Regions from separate parts of the Homo sapiens genome. Here region 2 is linked to region 1. The links are contacts of gene promoters, found by promoter capture Hi-C in human tissues and cell types (Jung and others, 2019). All regions are on one chromosome and are shown on one strand. The core of a region is centred on a gene start or on the middle of the fragment in contact, and the rest is flanking DNA. Distances in the headings are between cores, read along the strand shown.

Region 1 (5,445 bases), core at 1,065-3,564:
TGGGATTTGAGAAATAAAATTTAGGGAATTTTAAGAGACATGAAAGCTACTAGGTCAGGGAAAATAAAAAGCTTAAATAACTATTTTTATTGTCCAGATCCTCTACTGTAATAGATTAACTATGTTCAATAAATTTCTAGACAAAATTGACTTGTGTCTGTGAGTGTGTTCTGGGAAGAGAGAAGAGTTAAACATAAGGCAATCCATCAGATAATCCTCAATCAGCCTACACAGTTGGTACAGCGAGCTCTGGGCTAGAAGATCCAGGCTGAGGAGGAGGATGGAGAAAGATTGAGATGTAGAGCCTCTGGGTTGAGAGGGACCTCTGAAATGAACTCATCTAGACTGCTGCCATGGAGATGGTGCTCTACAGTAGCCCTGTCAATCGCTGGCTGGCTTCTGCCTAGGTAAGTCTGCCTTGAATTCATGGTGGTATGTTATGTTACAGTGGTATCCATCTTGGTACTTTTGTCCTCTGCAATGGTGAGTGGTGGGGAGTTTGGGAAATACTACCTCTTCTAAGAGGTTTGTGTAAACCTTAATGGTGTCCTGGTACCACCCTGTGAATCCTTCTTTGTAACTAATGTTTTCCACCCCAGAGCCTCCACATTCATGAGGGATGCCAAAAATCGAAGAAGTTCTTCGTAGATGTACAGCCCAGCACATTCACAACTGAGCATTGTTGCCTGACAATTCATTTATTCAACAATGAATGTTTGAGTGCCATGCATGGTTTTGGGTATCCACTTGTGAGCAAGATGACCTAGGTCCCTGCTCTCACTTGGTGGAGGGGTAGGGAAAGCAGGTAGGTACGGAGAAGGAAAGAAGATAGAACTCTATGCCCTGCAAGCTACTGCTAGAAAACTAACACTTCTGTCTTCCCTCGGGACTCTCCTAGGCCCTTTCACCACTTCTCACCTCTCACCCACATTCTGCACTCCCAGCTAAAGCAGCCAAAGGACTATTTGATTTGGCAGAGCTTTCAGGCACAAAGCCCTATGTTCCCTCTGGCCCAAAGCCACTACTCTGAAGGCTGAAAACTGCCCTTTGGCTCAGGTTGCTGTCCAGTCACAGCCTCACAGATAATTTGTGCTGAACCTTGAGGTGAGGGCAGAGGCCACTTCTTTAAATACTTTGTCTTCTCTACTGCCTTACATTTGAAAAGCACAGGTTGGATCAATAAGTATTAAACGTATAGCGTATTACTCCTTTGAAGCCTCCCTGCTTGACTCCTCCCTTTCCTGCCTTCTCATTCCCTACTTTATTGCATCACAGATACGTAATTTATTACCAAGGATCTTTCATAATTCCCCACCCCTGCCTCTTTCTTCTCTTGCCCACACTGTGTGACTTAACAGAGTCAACAATACATATAATTCCACCAGCAACAAAGAAAATAAGTTTTGTTTTCCTATTGTCTGTTTTCATGAAGAGGCCCTTCTTAGTTAATCTGAAAGCTATGGCTTATACCATAGTCCTCCATCATATCTAAAGCCAGGAACTAGAACTTGGGCTTGTGCTTGAGTCCTGGGTAAAGAAGGGTTGAGTGGTGCTAATTCTTGGCTGTCTGGGTGCTCTTGATTAGTGATAGAATCCTAGTCAACACTGTCGCTTATCCAGACCCAGGAGAATAAAAATCTACTTGGCTCTCCTACTCTTCATTCTGGTAGCATCTTAGGCCAGGTAAAGTTCAATAAATTTTTTTGAATTCTAAGAAGTGGGAATTCCTCCCTCAACTCAAAGGCTATATTGTCAAAAACTCAACTCCCGGCTCTGTCGCTTCTTCACTGAGGGCAATTTATCTCCATAATCAAAGATGAATACATTCAGATGAACTCTTCTGTGTGGGTTTAAATTTTACTGTTCAGCATTCAGTCTTGCTAGTAAATAAGAAAAGATGAGAGAAATGGATTGAAAACTCCCACAAGACCCTCTATGGAAAAGGAGCCAAAAGATTGCAGAGGTATATAGAACTTTAGAGCTTTTGAGTTTAATGATGTCTATCCCTATACCTTCTTTCTGGAAAGCAGATTTTTGTGAATTGAGGGCAGGAACATTACAGAACTGATGCTTCATGGCTCTGGAATACTAAGTCCTCTGAGCCTGGATCTCCTTCAGCTCTGCCACCTACCTCCTTGTTTGCTAAATGTCCTTAGAGAAGTTAGGATATGCCTGGGGAACCCTGGGTCATATAACCATGACAACTGGCTGACCCTGTTGTCTCTCCCTCTCTGCCCTCCTCTAGCTGGGAGGTGGAAGCAGCATTGCCCAAGCCTCCCAGGAGTGACAGGAATTGTTTCTGCCTGAGGAGACACTCTGCAGCCTGGGCTCTGTGAGACTGAGGTGGCGGTCAGCCGGAGTGAGTGTTGGGGTCCTGGGGCACCTGCCTTACATGGCTTGTTTATGAACATTAAAGGGAAGAAGTTGAAGGTAAGGGCCTCTTGGGGATTTTGCTGGGGATGAAAAACTCTGCAGGGAAACTACTGAGGGAGAGATTCTGGTATAGATACCAGAATCTAGAAATAGAGGAATTGGATAGGCACAGTGGATCATGCCTTTAATCCCAGCACTGCAGGTGGCCAAGGCAGGTGGATCACTTGAGCCCAGGAGTTCAAGAACAACCTGGGCAACACAGTGGGATCCTGTCTCTATAAAAAAAGAGAAAAAATTAGCCCTGCATTGTGGTGCATGCCTGTAGTCCCAGCTACATGAGAGGCTGAGGTGGGAGGGTACCTTGATCCCAGGAGGTCAAGGCTGCATTGAGCCATGATCGTGCCACCACATTCCATCCTGGGCAACAGATTGAGACCCTGTCTCAAAAAACAGATAGGGAGAGGGGGAGAGGGACAGACAGAGAGAAAGAGAGAAATAGAGGAATTAACCCAGAGCCTTTTCAAAGATGAAACCTTTAACTTGTTTATTTATTTTTTTAGAGATGGGCATCTCACTGTATTGCCGAGGCTGATCTCAAACTCCTGGGCTCAAGCAATTCTCCCATGTCAGCCTCAGTAGCTGGGATTACAGGTGCTTGCCAGTGCACCCAGCTTGAAACTTCTTGTTTTAGTCTCTTTTGGACCCTCATTTAAGAGCCTTAAGATTTTATCTAAAACTTTTTATCTCTTATGGCTACCTGCATTTTTTATTTCCTAACCTGAACTCCTTTTTTTTTTTGAGACAGAGTCTCCCTCTGTCACCCAGGCTGGAGTGCAGTGGCAGGATCTCAGCTCACTGCAACCTCCACCTCTCAGGCTCAAGCGATCCTCCTGCCTCAGCCTCCCAAGTAGCTGGGATTACAGCTGCCCACCACCACGTCTGGCTAATTTTTGTATTTTTAGCAGAGACGGAGTTTCACCATGTTGCCCAGGCTGGTCTTGAACTCCTGAACTCAGGTGATCTGCCTGCCTTGGACTCCCAAAGTGCCGGGATTACAGGCCTGAGCCACCGCGCCTGGCCTCTTAACCTGAACTCTTATAGGAAACATTATTCTTGGCCGGGCATGGTGGCTCTTGCCTGTAATCACAGCACTTTGGGAGGCCAAGGTGGGCAGATCACTTGAGGCCAGGAGTTCGAGACCAGCCTGGCCAACATGATGAAACCCCATCTCTACTAAAAATACAAAAATTAGCCAGTGTGGTGGTTCATGCCTGTAATCCCAGCACTTTGGGAGGTCTAGGCAGGTGGATCACTTGAGGTCAGGAGTTCGACACCAGCCTAGCCAACATGGTGAAACCCCATCTCTACTAAACAGAAAAAAAAAAAAAAACTAGCCGGGCGTGGTGGTGGGCGCCTGTAATCCCAGCTACTTGGGAGGCTGAGGCAGGAGAATCCCTTGAACCCGGGAGGCGGAGGTTGTAGTGAGCCGAGATTGTGCAACTACACTCCAGCCTGGGCAACAGAGCAAGAATCCATCTCAAAAAAAAAAAAAAAGAAAGAAAGAAAAGAAAAAGAAAGAAACATCAGTCTTGACAAGTAAGCTATGGAGCAACTCATTGCTATGGGACCCTAAGGAGTGGGGCTATTGTGTGTGATATTCACCCTCCAACCTAATGCCTTCTGTTCAGGGCAAATGGGCCCCCAGGCAGCCTGGGCCTAGTTGGTGGCCATGAGAGGTAGGGAAGTGACCCAGTGGAGCTCAAGCCTGAGGGCTTCTGATGGGACCTGGGACTCTGTTTTGCAGCTTGAGGAGCGAGGATGGCAGTCAACAAAGGCCTCACCTTGCTGGATGGAGACCTCCCTGTAAGTAACTTGGGCTCATCTGTGACAGGGGATGGACAACTGAGGGAGGAGGAAGAAGCAGGGAGGGGAGATGCAGGGGACTTAGAGCAAGATATTCCCAGATTATAATCCTAGTTCATTGACTACCATGGCTTAGTTATTCTTGCCCTCACCACCTTTTGTAGGGGGCAGTTGGAGGATCTGGGAGGGGAAAAAAAGATGCCTATTAAAAATTAAGCACCTTGAAAAAAAGGGACAGAAATCCTGGCTTAGGGACGGGGGGAGTGGAGAGGAAGGAAACTACTGTTTAAACCCTGACGCAGAAGCCCATGCTCTGTCCACCACCCAGCTGGATGTGCATTCAGTGCAGAGCCACTGTATTCTGTGTCTCCAGCATCATTCATAACGGCAAATGTCACCTGTCGGAGTTAGACGGTGCACAGCCTGTGCTGCTGTGTGGGGGGAAGGGTGGGATATTCCATGTGTCTGGTGTTCTATCTCTGACCTGGTTTTCACTGTGACTTGAAGTGATTTGATACTTTTAGGGATGCTTGATGGCTCCTGGCAAGGCATCTCAGATTTGGGCACAGTTCGGATAGTGAAACTTAAAAATTATGAACCTGTGCAATATCCACCTTGCCCAAGTTACGCTTTTACTAACTCCTGCACTAGGAATCACTTTGTTTTGTATTGAATCATAGAACAGAGAGAGGCGTAAAATGGTCAAGTACATGGTTAAGCCATTCTAACAGACGGTGGTTTATTCCCTTCCCAGGATCTCTTTCCTCCTTCGGTTTTGTGTAAAACAACCTCTGAAGCCTCGTCCAAAATGTTAAAAAGAATGTTTTCTTGTTTATAGTCATAGTCTATTTCTAGTTCAAATTTCAAATTCACCTGCAGGATAAAAAACTAAGATATTGGCCAGGTGCAGTGGCTCACGCCTGTAATCCCAGCACTTTGGGAGGCCAAGGCGGGCGGTTCACAAGGTCAGGAGATCAAGACCATCCTGGCTAACACAGTGAAACCCCATCTCTACTAAAAATACAAAAAATCAGCGGGGTATGGTGGCGGGCGCCTGTAGTCCCAGCTACTTGGGAGACTGAGGCAGGAGAATGGCATGAACCCAGGAGGCAGAGCTTGCAGTGAGCTGAGATCGCGCCACTGCACTCCAGCCTGGGAGACAGCGAGATTCCATCTCAAAAAAACAAACAAACAAACAACAAAAAAAAA
Region 2 (5,445 bases), core at 1,011-3,510, 530 kb before region 1:
GAGCAGCACCCTGACCACCCTCAGGCACGTTGTAGCGGACCAGTGGGTTATGACCACACAAACAGTCTCACGAAGCTGAGGAAGCAAAAAGTGCAACACGCCCAATCAAGCAGCTGTGAAGATGACTTCATGTGTGTTTACCTGTGGAGTGTTTTTACATACCCCCAGCCTGGTTCCATAAAGGGTGGGGAGACATGAAGAAAAGAAAGTAGTGAAATATAAACATTAAAATCAGGAGCAGAGAAAACCCAAATCTGAAGAAAAACATCTCCATCAGCAAGGAAGTAAAAATTCACGAGTAGGTCAATGAGTCTTCGCACAGCTGGTAGAGAAGGGCTGAGCCTTTAGTGCTGGGCCTCCTGGTGGCCAAAGAAAAATGGGAAATGAAGCTACTCCATCCTCAATGTCCATAAGGAGGAACACATATCAGCCATTTGGGGGAAGCTCAGCCTTTTTTTTTTTTTTTTTTTTTGAGATGGTGTTTTGCTGTTGTTGCCCAGGCTGGAGTGCAATAGCACAATCTTGGCTCACCGCAACCTCCGCCTCCCAGGTTCAAGCGATTCTCCTGCCTCAGCCTCCTGAGTAGCTGGGATTACAGGCATATGTCACCACGCCCGGCAAAGTATTTTTAGTAGAGACGGGGTTTCTCCATGTTGGTCAGGCTGGTCTTGAACTCCTGACCTCATGTGATCCACCCGCCTCGGCCTCCCAAAGTGCTGGGATTACAGGCGTGAGCCACCACGCCCAGCAGCTCAGCCCTTTTTTTTTTTTTTTTTTGAGACGGAGTTTCTCTCTTGTTGTCCAGGCTGGAGTGCAATGGTGCAACCTACACCTCTCAGGTTCAAGCGATTCTCCTGCCTCAGCCTCCCAAGAAGCTGGGATTACAGGTGCCTGCCACCATGCCCAGCTAATTTTTGTATTTTCAGTAAAGTCAGGGTTTCATCATGTTGGCCAGGCTGGTCTCTCGTACTCCTGACTTCAGGTGATCCGCCTGCCTCAGCCTCCCAAAGTGCTGGGATTATAGGCCTGAGCCACCGCGCCCAGCCGAAGCTCAGCTTTACACCTGGCAGCAAATGGGGAAGGAAGCCCTCGGGTGGGGGTGACACTAGTTAACAGGATGACGGGGGTCAGGTGGCTGAGCCACCGAGCCCGGCCCTCAAGTAGGCCCTTCTGTCAGGCAGCAGAGACATCGTCTCAATGAGCTGCAGTTTCTCATACATGTCACGGGAGGAATGAGACATATAAAGATCACAGGAGTCTCAAGAGGAGTGAGACCAAGACAGACACTGCGGTCCCTTCTTATCTTTTGGATTTTTCCATAGTTCTCTGGAAGCAAGGGCTGGTTCAGATAAGCTGGTTGCCCGTGCTTATCTACCTGCAAAAGAGCGTTTCCACCTGGGCAGGCCCTGTAAGTCTGGGCAGCAGACCGCCCTTGGAATCTGTCCAGACAAAGAAATGCCAAGAGTCAGAGATAAGCCTCAGTCCCAGGTGGCAACTCAATCCCACTTACGCCTGGGAGAAGGGGTGGAAACCTGCCTCGGGCACTACAGAGTGCAGCCGGCTGGAGGGGAAACCTATAGACCAGCCAGTCCCTGGTTCAGCCCAGGCCTCCAAACGAGCCAGCCACAAGCCCTCCAGCCATGCTGGGAGTAGAGTGAATGAAACGACAAAGGGACAGAAAGGGGAATGTGCCTTGGAGAGGGGGGTGAAGGGCCCCTTAACCAGGCTTTCCCCTTCTGGGGCTTCCCTTCCACACTTGCCTCATCTCTCTGCCCTGAGAGTCAGACTGAAAGCCATGGTGTGCAGAGTAGAGTTAGAGACCTGGGTTCAAAGCCATCCTCTACCACTTACTGGCTGTGTGCCACCAGGACACGCCACTTAACCTCTCAAAGCCCCGTTTTCCTTATCTGTAAAATGGGGAAAATAATAACACTTTGCCTCATGGGGTTGTTATTAGAAAAAATGAGATTACGTATGTAAATAATAATATACATAATAACCCACATTTACTGAGACAGCTTTGCTAAAACAACGTTGCACATGGTTTGCAGTGTGGCATGGTGTCTGGCACGCGACCAACACTCAATGAGTGACTCAAAAACAAAATCCAAAAGCCCCGCAGGAAAATCCGGCCCGGTGAGAGCTGGCAGAAGGGCAGGGCTCCTTGCGGGAGTCGGGCCTCCCTCATCCAGGGGGTTCACGAACTTAGCCTGGGCGATTCTAACTTAGGCACGCACCTGGTCACACGAGGGTCTCATGGCCAAAGCCAGACGGCATCAGCTCAGAAACAGAGACTTGCGTGTCACAGGCTCGTGTTGTGGGCGCGAGCTGGTCTGTGCTCGGTGTGAGTGGTGTTACTGTCTAAGGGCCCAGGTGCTTGGGTCACCTCCAGAGTGACTGCAGACGTCTGTGAAGGACCCTGCCTGAGCTTGCCTGTGGTGTGTGTGTGTGTGTGTGTGTGTACACGGTACCGCAGGGCTTGTCCACGCTTGCGCACTCACTCCTAGGTGCTCTTTGTGCAGGGGTGGAGGTGTTTCTGCACTTTACTTCCTGCGAGGGGCTGGCGCACCTTGGGGTCAGTCTTAAGCTTTTATGCTCTCCCTTGTGTCAAAGAGTGTCTCGCTCGCTCTCCTGGGCTGCCTGTGCTGCTCGGACATCCTCTAAATCCATCTATCCAGTGGGTTAGTCCAGTATGAAGAAAGCAGGGCACGCCGAGGCTGCGGCCGGTTTTCCCATTCAGGGTGAACCCTCTCCCTCCACCCCGACAGGCTTCAGCCAGGGGCTTCACCAAGGCCAGTGCATCCCACTAGGCAGATCATCCTTCAAAAAGGCAGACCGGGGCTGGTCTGGGGCTGCCCTGTCCCTCCCTGGAGGGAGACGGCACATGGAATGGGCACATAAGAGTCACCTGCAGGGTCCCCACTCCCCACCCCAGGAAGTGGGGTTCTGAGTAGGAAGTGGGGTTCTGAGTAGGAAGTGATGTGGGAATACTCAGCCCTCAGCCCCATGTAAGGGTCCTCCTTCCCTGTGACTCAGCCGGAAGCCTGGAGCTCTCTGGGGTGAGACAGGAATAGGGCTCAGCACCATCCCCACCCTGGTTAGTCCCCACCCCAGGCCAGCCAGCTAGCTGCAGCAGCGCTGTGACTCAGAACCCCACCCCACCTTTCTCTCTACTGTGGCTCCGGGCACGGCAGCAAGACGCTGACCTGGCCCTAACATCCCACCCTCTACAGGCCCCAGCAGGATCAGGCCAGAAAACACCAGCTTCCCTGTGGAGTCGGTGGGGAAGGGGCCTCCAATGCAAGGAGGCAGCCAGTGGCCTCCCCCACTCTCAGAGAGGGGTCTGGGCGGGACAAGTCCCCAGAGAGCCTCCTGAAAGGCTGTTGTAGCCCTTCGTCCCCAGGGATGTCACGATAAGTCACCAGAACCTTGGACCCACTTACCCCAGCAGCAGCCCCACCTCCAGGGCAGGAGTGCTGACGGGGCCACAGTCAGCAGGAAACTGGGACACACTGCCAACCTGGGTGCACTTCCTTCCTCCACACGGCCCGTGTTGGGCAGGGCAGCCACTTCTTCCTCATGGAGCATGGAGGAGGGGGCCACATTCTGCTGACACCAGCCCAGTGCCAGAGTCGAGTCCCTGACCAGGGACTCTGGGCAGAGGTTGGGGGTATTGTGTGCCAAGGGTCCTCCCATGGACTGAGGTCACCAAGAAAGTGGCAACGAGGGCAAGGGAACCTGGCCTCACAGCATCTGTGCTCCTGGGGCATGCCCCGGAAAGCCATTGCTACAGCCCCAAGTGGGCAGACGAAGAGCCTCTGCCAGAACCCCCAGGCAGTCCCAGTCCCGACCTAGGGCCTGTGCCATGGGTGCACAGACCACTGCCGTCACCTTAGGAGCCTGCCTGCCGCCTGCCTGCTCACAGGTCTACACAGGGACACGCTCAGTCCCTCTGCTCAGGGGCTGGCTCCCCTCTAACAACCCGGCTTCTAGGGCCTCTGCCCTGGGTCTGCCTTCCTGCTTTTATAGATGTCTCCACTTCTTCCAAGGAAATCGGGGTCATCAGGCATAAACAACCTCAACTTCCCACCCCATCTCCTCAGAGACCAAATCCTATGTCACCAACTCTACCTGTCAGAAAGCAGTTTTTGTTCCAATGTCCATTCTAGAAACTTTTGTGCCTCCCTCCACCTGCCTTAGACAAGCTCCCAAAGAGAACAGCCACCCCATGCCATCTCTGCCTCTCACCTTCCACTCACTCCTCCACAGAAGTTGGGCCTCAGCCAGCCCCACGTTCAGCAGTGCCAGCCCTGCCAAGAGCCCAGGGATCGCCTCGCTGACAGACCCCAGACACGGGCCACGCCACCCCGTCCTCTAGGTACCTGTGCCCCCAGTCTCAAGCATCACTCCGTGTCTCCCTCACATGCCTTCTGGGCCTCTAGCCCTCAAAGAGCTAAAGTATGTGAGCACTTTCTCAGCCCTTTAAACGGATTAAGTCATGTCATCCTCACAAGGCTGCTGTGTTTTATTACCTCTGTTTCAGGTGCAAGTCATCCCCGGGAGGAGTGGTGGGGATGCCGCCCGACCCTGGGCCACCTGGCTGCAGCATCTGTGTTGATGACCACCCTCCTGCCTCAGGCTTTGCTCCTGAATGTTCTTGCTCTCTAGGTCTGTCTGCTCCTGGCCCTGCTCTTCTTAACTCCGTTCAAGCCCCTGGGTCACACGTCCATGCTCATCACTTCAATGACGCGGATGCTGGCGATCCCCAAATCTCCTCATCCAAGTGCAGATCTTCCTCCAACACACCAGACCCCACAGTGCAGAAGGGCCTCTGTGGGTGCCTCCCACCACCTCACCGCCCCCTTCCAGTCCCACTCCCTGGCTTGGCATTTTGTGTTTGTGTGTGGCACCACTCACCTGGGTGTCTCACCATCCTCCTTCCTCAGAAGTCCAGTCTATAATCAAATCCTGCCAATTTTCTCTCAATATTTTCCAAATCCATTCCCCTCACCATCCCCACTACCGCAGTCCTGAGCCTGGCACCATCCTCTCTCACCTAGGCCACCATCACAGCAGCCTCCCAACCAGCCTCCCATCTCCAGGCCAGCTGCTATGCTGCAGCCAGAGGGCTCTCTGGGAGCCGTCACTGTTCTGCCTAAAAACTTCAATAGCACCCCGTCGTCCAAGCTCCTAACTTGCTAGTGCTTGCCACCCACCCACCTCTTGGTTCGACCAAGTGACATGGAACTGCAACTCAAGGGCCCAATTCTCTCATCTCCGGTCTGTTCAGGAAGTCCCCTCCACCCAGAAGGCTTTCCTTTTGACTAACTCACACTCATCCTTTGAGACTTGGCTCAGTTCCACCTCCTCCAGGAGGCCTTCCTGGATCCCCGGCTGGGCAAGGGCCCTTCTCCGTATGCCCATCATTTCCTGTTCACACGTCTT

The links. The method cuts DNA at HindIII sites, captures the fragments that hold promoters and counts their contacts. A contact is called where the count stands out against the background at its distance.
Region 2: a fragment that was not itself captured here is called in contact with the fragment with the promoter of PLIN1 in region 1 in 1 of the 25 tissues and cell types used here (liver).

What each region holds. Positions count from the first base shown.
Region 1 is chr15:89,676,236-89,681,680 of GRCh38, reverse strand. PLIN1 (perilipin 1) reads left to right here and starts at 2,314. Exons shown (of 9, transcript NM_002666.5): 1 at 2,314-2,430; 2 at 4,178-4,236. The coding sequence starts at 4,192. It overlaps PEX11A (peroxisomal biogenesis factor 11 alpha), which reads left to right. Exons shown (of 3, transcript NM_003847.3): 3 at 1-146. The HindIII fragment of the contact is 12,360 bases long and covers 1-5,445 here.
Region 2 is chr15:90,209,661-90,215,105 of GRCh38, reverse strand. The region is part of intron 1 of SEMA4B (semaphorin 4B); the gene reads right to left. Among named protein-coding and RNA genes, the nearest start is that of SEMA4B, 11 kb to the right of the region's middle. RefSeq lists silencers at 175-469, 2,414-2,588 and enhancers at 2,652-3,851, 5,387-5,436. The HindIII fragment of the contact is 4,496 bases long and covers 13-4,508 here.